Regions from separate parts of the Homo sapiens genome. Here regions 1 and 3 are each linked to region 2. The links are contacts of gene promoters, found by promoter capture Hi-C in blood cells and fetal thymus (Javierre and others, 2016). All regions are on one chromosome and are shown on one strand. The core of a region is centred on a gene start or on the middle of the fragment in contact, and the rest is flanking DNA. Distances in the headings are between cores, read along the strand shown. Region 1 has its middle 15 kb from the start of KRT8. Region 2 holds the start of KRT80 (keratin 80). Region 3 has its middle 29 kb from the start of EIF4B.

Evidence for each region. Contacts are between HindIII fragments. The CHiCAGO score rates a contact against its expected background, and 5 or more counts as called.
Region 1: a fragment that was not itself captured here is called in contact with the fragment with the promoter of KRT80 in region 2 in 2 of 17 cell types (endothelial precursors and total CD8 T cells); the score reaches 6.4 in endothelial precursors.
Region 3: a fragment that was not itself captured here is called in contact with the fragment with the promoter of KRT80 in region 2 in 2 of 17 cell types (endothelial precursors and total CD4 T cells); the score reaches 8.2 in endothelial precursors.

What each region holds. Positions count from the first base shown.
Region 1 is chr12:52,918,321-52,921,965 of GRCh38, forward strand. It overlaps a transcript of KRT8 not described here. Among named protein-coding and RNA genes, the nearest start is that of KRT8, 15 kb to the left of the region's middle. RefSeq lists enhancers at 1-220, 221-720. The HindIII fragment of the contact is 2,200 bases long and covers 777-2,976 here.
Region 2 is chr12:52,189,733-52,193,457 of GRCh38, forward strand. KRT80 (keratin 80) reads right to left here and starts at 2,282. Exons shown (of 9, transcript NM_182507.3): 1 at 1,871-2,282. The coding sequence starts at 2,170. The HindIII fragment of the contact is 31,387 bases long and covers 1-3,725 here.
Region 3 is chr12:52,975,983-52,979,898 of GRCh38, forward strand. No RefSeq gene overlaps it. Among named protein-coding and RNA genes, the nearest start is that of EIF4B, 29 kb to the right of the region's middle. The HindIII fragment of the contact is 5,548 bases long and covers 1-3,916 here.

The DNA of each region.
Region 1 (3,645 bases), core at 627-3,126, 730 kb after region 2:
GCCTCTACTGTATCAGCTGGGTTGTTGGAGCCTCAGAAACATGCAGGCCTACTGTATGCGCTGCATGCATCACCTCATTTAAATTCATAAAGATCCCACCAGGCCGAGATGGAAAAGTGCCTACATTCACACAGCTGTGAAGGGAAGAACTGGCATCTGAGCCCCGCCAGACAGACGCCGCGCAGGTGCAGCTGCCCCGAGCCTGCCCATGCATGTTCTGCTGCCCCAAAGCCATGTGTGACCAAAACCCAAAGGACAGAGGGTGCAACCAGAAGAATTTCGCAGCCACTTCCTAATGGTGTTAAGAGTTACTTCACCAGCTGAAAATGCAGATAGTAACAACTACCTCAGAAGACTGACATGATCATCAGGTAAGGAACAGTGCCTAAAATAGCAGGTTTTCAAGACATGTTAGCTTGACTCTCACCAACCCTCCCTGCTTGTCCCCCAGCCTTTCCCAAAGCCTTTCTCCACACAATTTCCCCCATTCCCTCACCACCTTCAGACCACCCTCCCCCATGGAACTTGTGTTCACATCACTTTGATACATTTGCCTTGTGAGAGTTTAAGCCTTGTGTTTCCCTGCATGAAATAACCTCCTTGCAGAACAGAACAGTGTCTGCTGCCTCTTCCCAGGGTAGGTGGTCAAGTGGAAGAAAGTGCTAGCTCAGCAGGGTGGAGGGTAACTAGGAGGTGGCAATTGGGTCTATAAGGAGGAGCTTATAGGATAGTAATAAAGAAATAGCATGTAAAAATCCGCCATTATGCAAAACAGAAGCTTGCAAATCCAATTCCTAGGGAGCTAGCCATGCAAACAGAGCCCTGCCTACTGACGCCCACTTGCTTTCCCCAACTCTCAACCCAGGGCTCCTTTCCCTGCCAATGATGGTGGCAGTGGTAGTGATTAGGATTGGGAACCATGGTGATCATGATGGGTTTCTTTTTTGTTTTTTTGTTTTTGAGACAGAGTCTCACTCTGTCACCCAGTCTGGAGTGCATGTAGTGGCACTACCTCAGCTCACTGCAACCTTCGCTTCCCGGGTTCAAGCAATTCTCCTGTCTCAGCCTCCCAAGTAGCTGGGACTACAGGCATGTACCACCACTCTCTGCTAAGTTTTTGTATTTTTAGTAGAGACAGGGTTTCACCATGTTGACCAGGCTGGTCCCAAACTGCTGGCCCCAAGTGATCTGCTCGCCTCAGCCTCCCAAAGTGCTGGGATTACAGGTGTGAGCCACCATGCCCAGCCATGGCTTTCATTTTCAGGGTTCCTACCAAGTGTCAAAGTGTCAGATCTCTTACATATATTATATATTATTTTATTTTATTTTAGTCTATTTTATTTTGAGATGGAGTCTTGCTCTGTTGCCCAGGCTGGAGTGCAGTGGCACGATCTTGACTCACTGCAACCTCCACCTCCTGGGTTCTCAAGCTATTCTCCTGCCTCAGCCTCCCAAGTAGCTGGGACTAAAGACCTGCACCACCATGCCCGGATAATTTTAGTATTTTTAGTGAGACAGGGTTTCACCATGTAGGCCAGGCTAGTCTTGAACTCCTGACCTCAGGGGATCTGCCTGCCTTGGCCTCCCAAGGTGCTGGGATTACAGGCGTGAGCCACCGCACCTATTATTTATAATCCTAAACTAATCCATGAGGAAGGTAACATTGTTCTCATTTTACAGACAAGGAAACTAAAGCCCAAGGTCCTTTGGTTAGTGTGACAGAGACAGGAATTGAACCCAAGTCTGGAGTAATTTTAGAGCTTGAACATTCTCTTTTCAATTATGCTGTTTTATAGTCAGGATCCAATTATGTCCATTAAGAGATGTAATAATGTCAATAACTCAAAAGGGAGGATTCAAAACATGTTTATTATTTTATTTAGCAATCCAAAAGAGCTATATTACATTTATTTATTGAGCATCTGTACTACCTCTCCTACAGTAGGGATTCTGGCAGACTTGGGGGACCTCTCCCCATCAAAATGGACAGCCCCAGCCCAGGCACGGTGGCTCACGCCTGTAATCCCAGCACTTTGGGAGGCCAAGGCAGGCAGATCACCTGAGGTCAAGAGTTTGAGACCAGCCTGACCAACATGGAGAAACCCCATCTCTACTAAAAATACAAAATTAGCCAGGCATGGTGGCACATGCCTGTAATCCCAGCTACTTAAGAGGCTGAGGCAGGCGAATTGATTGAACCCAGGGGGCAGAGGTTGGGGTGAGCTGAGATTGTGCCATTGCACTCCAGCCTGGGCAACAAGAGCGAAACTCCATCTGAAAAAAAATTAAAAATGGACAGCCCCATGAGGGCAGAGACCTTGACTATGTTGTTGACCGTCACATCCACAGCATTAGAAAGACATCTAACAGGCACTCCACCAGTATATGATGAACGAATTCACAAATGGCTGAACCAGCCTGCCAGGTAAGCCTGTGCCCAGCCAGGCACAGTGGCTCACACCTGTAATCCCAGTACTTTGGAAGGCCAAGGGAAGATCACTTGAGGCCAGGAGTTCAAGACCAGCCTGGACAACCAGCGACATAGCAAGACCCTGCATGTGTGCATATATGTCTGTAAGACAGAAAATGAGACAGAGAGACTCTAGAGAGCACGCAGCTCAGCTAAAGAAAAGACCTGCTACCCACCACTCTGTAACCAACCTGCCCCCACCCCATTCCCTGGTCTCTAAGGACTAAGATAACCCCAACTCAGATACAATGACCCATTCATAGGCCTTTAGGAAAATCTGTTGACCTGGATGGTGGGAATGGGCTAAGCCCAGGCCAGCCCAGGCCAGCTTAGCCTCAGGGACCTGTTAGTCAAGTTCCCATGGCAACACAACTAATTGTGTGTTTATGCATTCCCTACAGAACTCCAGGCAGAGGCCATCTATTCCCCAAGGCCACATTCTACCTTCTCTCTCCTTCCTTGCCTCCCCAAGTTTCCTGGGTGACCATCCAGGGAACATTAAGAGAAGCTTAAGTAGCAACAGCAGCCTCCAGAACATGGAAGGCAAAGGAGGGAAAGCCTCTCTGAGGGAGAGGACCAGTACTTCTTGCTCACAATTGTCCAGCTGCAAAAGTCAAACTCCCTAGTCCTCCTCCTGGACCCACAGTTCTATGGCTTCGATGGCTCCCACATGTCACCACACTAAACCTCCACCCCCAGGCCCCCATGGCCTGACCCTATCCTACTTGACTGCCAGCTCCTGCACAAACTCCCTCTTCACTTATGCAGTGCACAGGCCCAGGGCCCCTCCTTCCTCTCTCTTTGTGTCCCTCTAGCCTGGCTCTACCCCCAAGGACTTCCTTCAGGAAGCCCTCCCAGATGGACTATTCCTCCCAGGCTTCTCCCTCCAGCCCTCCAGCCTGGAGCCTCTGATTGTGCATCCCCAGCTGTGGCCGGATCTCCCAGAGCTGGGCATGGGTTCAGCTATTCCCCCATGGCCTAGCAGTTTCCTTAAGGTGGTAAAGCTTTTAATTCTTACAGAAACTATAAAATAAGCATTATCTGCATTCTAGAGTGGAGAACACTGAGCCTCAGGATTAAAAGCAATGTGCACTGCTTGGCACAGTGGCTCACACCTGTAATCCCAGCACTTTGGAAGGCCAAAGTGGGAGGATGGCTTGAGGCTAGGAATTCAA
Region 2 (3,725 bases), core at 1,032-3,531:
TGTGTCCCACCCTGAAGGGCACCCCATCTCAAGGTCAAGGCTAAGGGTTGGGAGGCTCCAATTCTGCTAAAGAACTTCAAGGGCATTGCCCTGGTCTCTGGGCACAGGACCCCAACCCTGAGGGCCTCTTCCCTGTGCTTATATCCTCCCATCCCCATGGCAGGGGCACAGGGTGATATCAGTGCTGGCGTTTGAGGGAGAAAACCACCCATCTGAGCCAAATTCCATAGCTCAGTGAAGCATTCCTTCTAAGGGATTAAACTGGGTTTGGTCAGGAGGTGGCTCTTTAGGGACCTGCCTCCCCAGGGCAGCTGGGCTGCTCTTAGAGGGAGAACCAGCTCAGCAATGCAAGGCTCTGTGCAGTTAGGGCTGGGGGAAGGGATGCTCTGCCTCAGTGGACTGTGGTCCTTCCCCTCTGGGTACCCAGGGGTACCCCAGGTGTGGATGATGAAACTCTGGTCTAGGCACATGAATGGAAGAAGGAAAGAAAAGATTCCCACCACAGAGACCACTGACTTCGTGTCTCAACAGACCTGAGTTCAAATCCAGACTACCATTTGCTGGTTGTGTGATCTTGGGCAAGGCACTTAGCCTTGCTGGTCCTCAGTTTCCTCATCTGCACAGTTGGGAAAATAACAGCCACTGCAGGGTGGCAGTGTGGCTTGAATTTCATTGCATTTGCAATGTTCCTCCAGAGGGCAAGGCATAAGTAGATGCTCAATGCATGTTACTTTCTTCCCTCTGCCCCTCTCTGTGAGCTCCCACCTCATGGGGGAGACCAGCAACATGCAGAGGAACACAGAATCAGAGGCCAAGAGCAGACAAGGACTGAGCCAGGGGCTGAAGGCTGGACCTCTGGTTTACTGGCAGGTTCAGAAATGTACAGTTTTCCTTATCTGTGAAATGGACATAAAATTGTCTTCTCCCATAAGGTTGTTGAGAGAAATACAGATAAACCTGAAAAGCATCAGCACAGTGCCTGGCACATAGTAAGCAATTAACCAATGGCAGCTGGCACTATCATGATTATTCTTGAGGGTGCAGGAGGGTGCAGAGTCAGGAGGAGTTTCTTGGAGAAGATGAGTAAAGAACAGATTTGGGAAGTGGATAACTTCCTTGGGAGCTCCCTTGCCCTGGGAGCAGAGGTGGACACGAGTGCCCCAGACCTGTTGCAGGCCATGGGTAGTGGAGTCTAGGAAGTGTGGTTGTGATGCTGAGGATGCACCTCCCGCAGTCAGGAGGGGCGCAGGGTGCAGGAAGGCCCAACTGGCTTCCCTGTTCTGACTCGAGGCATCGTCCCCTGCATTCCTATCTCCTGACACCTGAGCTGCACCCTCACTTGCAGCAGTCTGGGCAGCAACCTCCTTCCAGCAGCCCCGCACTCACCCTCCACCCTGCTGGCTTTTCTGACTGGGGCAGCTGAGAGAGATGCTGTGGGACCAGAGGCTTGAGGGATAAACAGGAGCGTGGTGCCTGGGAGGCCATCTCCCCTGTCCACTTGCCTCAGAGTAGGACCGCAGAGCATGCCTCCATCAGCCATTCCTGCGAGAGGGCACCCCTGGCCACACTAGGTGGTCCTCCCCAGTCCCTGCCTGGGTGGTGGGTGACCCCAGGTCATGCAGCATGTTATTATCAACACATCCCTCAAAGGCCATCCTGGGGTCCCTTTCTCCCCACATGCCAGGATGGATCAGGGACTTCCCTCCCCCAGCCTCTGCTCAGAGCTAGCCTGTCGGGTTAGCAGTGCCATCTCCCCATTGGCTGGGTGCAGGGGTGGGGCGCGGTGATCGATGCTCAGGGAAACACAGAGCTCAGCTACCGGCCCAGGCCTGGCAGCCCTTCATGTTTGGGACCCCCTACTTGTGCTCACCTTGCCAATTAGGGAGGCAAATTTATCATTGAGGGCCTTCATCTCCTCCTTCTCCTGGTTCTTCAGCTGCTGAACAGCGGGGTCCAACTTGACATCCAGGGGCACCAGCAGGCCGGGGTTCACAGTCACCTTGGAGATAGTGCCAGCCGACCAGCAGCCTGTGAGGCTGCGGGAGCTGAAGCCCGGCCCGGGGGCCCTGCAGCTGTCCCATCCTGAGGTTCCAGGCCGGGGGCTGCCCACCGGGGTCACCTCACAGCTGCTGAGGCTGCTGAAGCCAACCACGCAGGAGCGGCAGGCCATGGTGCCCCCGGCCGGAAGCAGGAGGGCCCAGGGGGGTGAGCGAGTGAGCCTGGGGTTGCGTCGGGTGGCAGGCTCTGGTTGCTCTGGTCACAGCTGGGGCGGGCTGGGGACTGAGGAGCAGACACCTGTTGCACAGTGCTCATTAGCTGCAGGAGGGCGGGACGCCTCCCAGCCTGACCAACCTGTTGGATGATGTGGGTGCTCCCGCCCCTCCCCCAGCAGCATGTAGGTCTCCCTCCCAACAGGTATCTGCATTGCTTAGGGGGCTGGTCCACAGCCCCCTGCCCCAAAGAAAGCAGGCCTAGCTCTGGGGAGGGGGCCAAGGCTGGACTGGCCGGGTGGGTTGGGGGTGGGGAGTTGGCAAAAGGAAGGCCATTCAAGGGGGCAGGAGAGAAGAGAGAGCGCCTCACCGCAGACCTCACTGCATACTTGAAGGCTGACGTATCTGGGCTCACATACTTCTGGAAAAGATGAGTCAAGCATAGGCCTTGAGCTCCCGAGTGTAGGGCAGCTATCCTGGGCACCGTGCCAGCCTGGCACTGGAAAACAGCACTTATTATTTATTTTCTGGCTGCCAAAGAGTCTCCCTGGCTTATCTTCCCCCTTCCTTCTACCCCCTCTCCCTTCCTTCCTTCCTTCACTTTAACTAGCATTGATTGAGGACCTACTATGTACACCCTACTGTCTCAGAGGCTGGGAGGACATAGACGGTCAAGGCCAAGGAGCTCTCAGCATTGGAAATGTGAGACCTGGTTCAAGACTCAGCTGGACTGCTCACCACTCATGTGACCTCAGGCACGTTACTTGACTTTTGTCTTCATTTGTAAAGTGGGGATGAAAACACCCACCTCACAGGAGGTAGCATGTACAAAGCACTTGGTAGAGGACAGGGGACAAAGTTGGCCTCAATCAGTGGTACTGCCTTCCGGGTGCTGAGTCTAGCAGGGGCGATGGGTATGGCTGAATGCAGCTCTGCTCTGGGGCAATGAGAATCCCTGCCTTCCTCACACTCTTTCCTCCCCACTCTTCTTTCTCTTCTCTGCCTCCTTTGACCTCTTTTACACCATCTGTGAAGTAGAAATAGAAAAGACCCCATTTTGCCCCCACAGAGCCTCTGACAGGGCGGCAGAGGCCCACCTGGCCCAGGGCAATGCCTACCTTTCCACAGTTCCTGAGACCCCACTCTCCCACCCCAGGGGGTTACCAGCTCTCCCAGCCCTGCGTCTCCTTTCCTGGCCTGGTGGTCCTGATGTTCTGGCCCTGGTGGCTGGATCTGCATGTCTTTCCTGGACCTGGCTCAATCCTGCTCTGGGTGGCAGGGGCCAGAGCAGAGAGAGGAGTGTGTCTGGGAGAGTCACAGATGGTCAGAGATAGAAGGGGTAGCAGCCCCCTCTGGGCCCAGAGGAAGAGAGAGCCCCTGAGCGGGGAGAACCATTTGCCAGTCACATCGCGGACCCTGGGCCTCCACCTCCAGGGCAGACATCTTTTTCACACACTAGGCACTTCTGGCTCACAAGGGCACAGGACCCTGTCTAGAGGCCACGGGTCCATCCTA
Region 3 (3,916 bases), core at 1,227-3,726, 790 kb after region 2:
TCCCACCCATCCTGCATCTTCATCAAGGTACTTCTGGGCCCCTTGAGACAGTGGCAGCAGCTGAAGGTGAGGAGTCAGGGGATAAGAGAGCATGAGACCTTCACCTCTCCACCCCGCACCTCTCTAATTTGCTTCCAGAATTATCTTTAAATCCACATTGTTGCCCTATCACGACTCCCCCCTGAAACACCTGTGATGGCCTCTCATTGTTGAAAGCATAAAATCTGATCTTCCCCCTGCATTCCATCTCCCATATCCACCTCCCTACTCAAGTGCCCCGTCTGCCCTTCACTAAACCTACTGTTCCACCTGAACTAATCTCAAACAACGTTTCCCAAACTGCCTCCTGCCAGGAGTTCTCCCCACCCTTCCATGTCCTGCATCCCACGTTTTCCTCAAGGCTCAGTGCAAATCACGCCTCCTCCCTGAAGCCTTCCCCGTAACTCGGCTGCCACCCTCAGGCTGCCTGCCAATGCTGTCTCCTCCTCTGACACCTCTTATGAGCACCACTCATCAAGATGGTCCCTTTAGTACTTGGCGTGCCTGGCCCCACATGTTGGCTGGCATTGTTTATTTGAATGAACATTGCCTTGGTACAATGATGGAGCCTGCTCTGTCCTCCTAGAAGAGACAGGAGAGAGAAGCCCATAGCAAGGGTCAAAAACTCCCAGCCTGAACCTGGGAGATGTCCATATACTGATGAAATGAGAGGTTCCCCTCTGGGTTCCAATGCACAAGCCCTGTACCAGATGAGGGAGCCATAAGGGATGCAGACAGAGACTCAAAGACAGAGACAAGGGCTGAGGGAGGGGGGATGGAAAGAACTGGGGAGCCAAAGACTGCAGCGGGGAAAGAATGCAGTGTCCATCCTAAAAGAAGGAAAATGGAAGTTTCCCAGGGAGGAGGGTGCCTGATCTTATCTGCTGTTTACATTCCAGAGAGCCCCTGCTTCTGCTTCTCATCTTAATTAGAGAATACTTGAGAAGCCCTGCCGCCGTGCAGAGAGAAAGGAATGCAGGCCCCCACTAAACCCCAGCCTGCCCCCCTCACCCCTGACCTCCTGCTGGCTATGTGGTGGGACTGATGGGAGTCTGGGTTCTGGATCCATTTTCTGTTTTCTGTTTTTTTGTCTACAGTGGGCTGATCCATTAAGCTGGATTCCTTGAGAGAGTATGTGAGAGGGTCTGGGAACTGTCAGGGCTCCACTCCTGCAGGAAACAAACAAACAAACAAACAAACAAAATTAAAAAGTATTAGAAAGAGCCACTGAGAGGAACAGCTGAGATTCTCTCAGTCAGTCTGCCATTCACCCCCTCAAACATCGCCCTCACTCCACCACCATAATGTCCAGGCAGGGTGCTGACACTTCACCGTTCACCTCCCACCCTGCCCCGGGCTGTCCTCCAAATGTGTGTCAGACACAGTGCTGGGGGACTTATACTTCTGTCATAGTCTCTGTCTTCAGTAGCATATGGTAAGAGCCAGGATCCGCTATTAAACATGCTGTGAGTGGGTAGAGACAAAGTCTTGTCTTGTAGGGTGAGCAGGCAGTGAGGTCAGAAAGGGCATCACAGGTAGAGGAAAAAGCATGGGCAGAGGTCTGGAACCCAGTCCCTCTTCATACCACCCGCTGACCCTTTCCCCTCCCCCCCACATGAGATTTCTCCCCCTCTCTTCTCTCTTCTCTCCCTCAACAATTCCAGGGTTGCCCACCTGAAAACAAGCTCCCTGGACCACCTTCCCTTGCAGCTCTCTGTTCCTTCTCTCTTTTTTTTTTTTTTTTTTTTTTGAGACGGAATCTCACTCTGTCACCCAGGCAGGAGTGCAATGGTGTGATCTCAGCTCACTGCAGCCTCTGCCTCCCAGGTTCAAGTGATTCTCCTACCTCAGCCTCACGAGTAGCTGGGATTACAGGTGCCCACCACCACACCCAGCTAATTTTTGTATTTTTACTAGAGATGGTGTTTCACCACATTGGCCAGGCTGGTCTCGAACTCCTGACCTCAGGTGATCCACCCGCCTCAGCCTTCCAAAGTGCTGGGATTACAGGCGTGAGCCACTGCGCCTGGCCAGCTCTCTGTTCCTTCTCATAGCTAAGCATCTTACATCATTCTCTCTCGTTTTGTTGTTGTTTTGTTGTTGTTGTTGTTGTTGTTGTTGTTGTTGTTTGAGACAGAGTTTTGCTCTTGTTGCCCAGGCTGGAGTGCAGTGGCGCGATCTCGGCTCACTGCAACCTCCACTTCCAGGGTTCAAGTGATTCTCCTGCCTCTGCCTCCCAAGTAGCTGGGATTATAGGCATGCGCCACCACACCTGGCTAATTTTGTATTTTTAGTGGAGATGGGGTTTTATCATGTTGGTCAGGCTGGTCTCAAACTCCTGACCTCAGGTGATCCACTTGCCTCGGCTTCCCAAAGTGCTGGGGTTACAGGCTTGAGTCACTGCATCTGGCCTTACATTATTCTCAAAAGAGGTCTACACACAGGCTTTCCCCTTCCTCACCCAGTTCACTCTTCAGCCCCTCCAGGCTGGCTCAGCTCGTATGGCTCCTCAGAAGCTGCACTAGCCAAGGTTCCCAGAGACCTCCATGTTGTTGAAATCGATGGACACTTGACATTCCTTTTGTTCCTTGACCACTTAGCTTCCAGCAGCTGCATGCTCCCTCCTTCTTTTTTTTTTTTTTTTTTTTTTGAGATGGAGTTTCACTCTTGTTGCCCAAGCTGGAGTCCAGTGGCATGATCTTGGCTCACTGCAACCTCCATCTCCCAGGTTCAAGCGATTCTCTTGCCTCAGCCTTCCAAGTAGCTGGGATTATAGGCGTGTGCCACCACACCTGGCTAATTTTTTGTATTTTTAGTAGAGACAGGGTTTCACCATGTTAGCCAGGCTGGTCTCGAACTCCTGACCTCAGGTGATCCACCTGCCTCGGCCTCCCAAAGTGCTGGGATTACAGGCATGAGCCACAGCACCCAGCCTCTCCCTCCTTCTTGAAACACTCTCCTTCCTAGTCTCCCAGACACCTCGTGCCAGGCTTTTCTCTAGTTATAGTTTCTCGGTCCCTTTTCCCCACTCACCCTCCTTGACATGGTCTGTAACTTGATGTTTCTGATCTATAAATTGACCTGATATAAAGTTGATGTTCCTCAGGGCTGGGTCCTGGCCCCTATTCTCTTATTAATAGGGACTATTTTCTTGAGTCATCTCATACCTTGCCCTGGTTTTAATTGCATCTTCTATAGACCAAAGACTTCCAGATTGTGATGTCCAACCAGACCTTTCTTGTGAGCTCCAGAGCAGCCTATGGAATATTCTACTTAATGCCTCTTTTTAGATGACTCTTAGGCATCTCAAATTTAACCTGTTCAAAACTGGATTATTGATCTTAGCTCCCACCAGCTTCATAATTCTTGTTCATCTTAGTAAATGACACACCATCCATCTAATTGCTTGTGCCAGAAACCTGGGAATCATATTTGACACCTCCTTCTCTCTTGGTCTACCCTATGGATCTAATAAATTAATAACCCTACTTCCACAGTAAGTCCAAATCTATTCCTTTCTCCCCATCCACACCCCACATCCAGGCTGTAGGCATCTGTCCTCTGTACTATCACTGCAACATCTTCCTAACAGAAAGTCTTCTCATGGCCACCAGTAACCACTCAGCCTTCCTCCACACACCAGCCAACATGGTCTTCTTTAAAAATAAATCTCAGCCGGGCTTGGTGGCTCACACCTGTAATCCCAGCCAAAGTGGGCGGATCACCTGAGGTCAGGAGTTCAAAACCAGCCTGGCCAATGTGGCAAAACCCCATCTCTACCAAAAAAAAAAAAAAAATTAGCCGGGCATGGTGGCAGGTGCCCATAGTCCCAGCTACTCAGGAGGCTGAGGCAGGAGAATCACTTGAACCCAAGAGG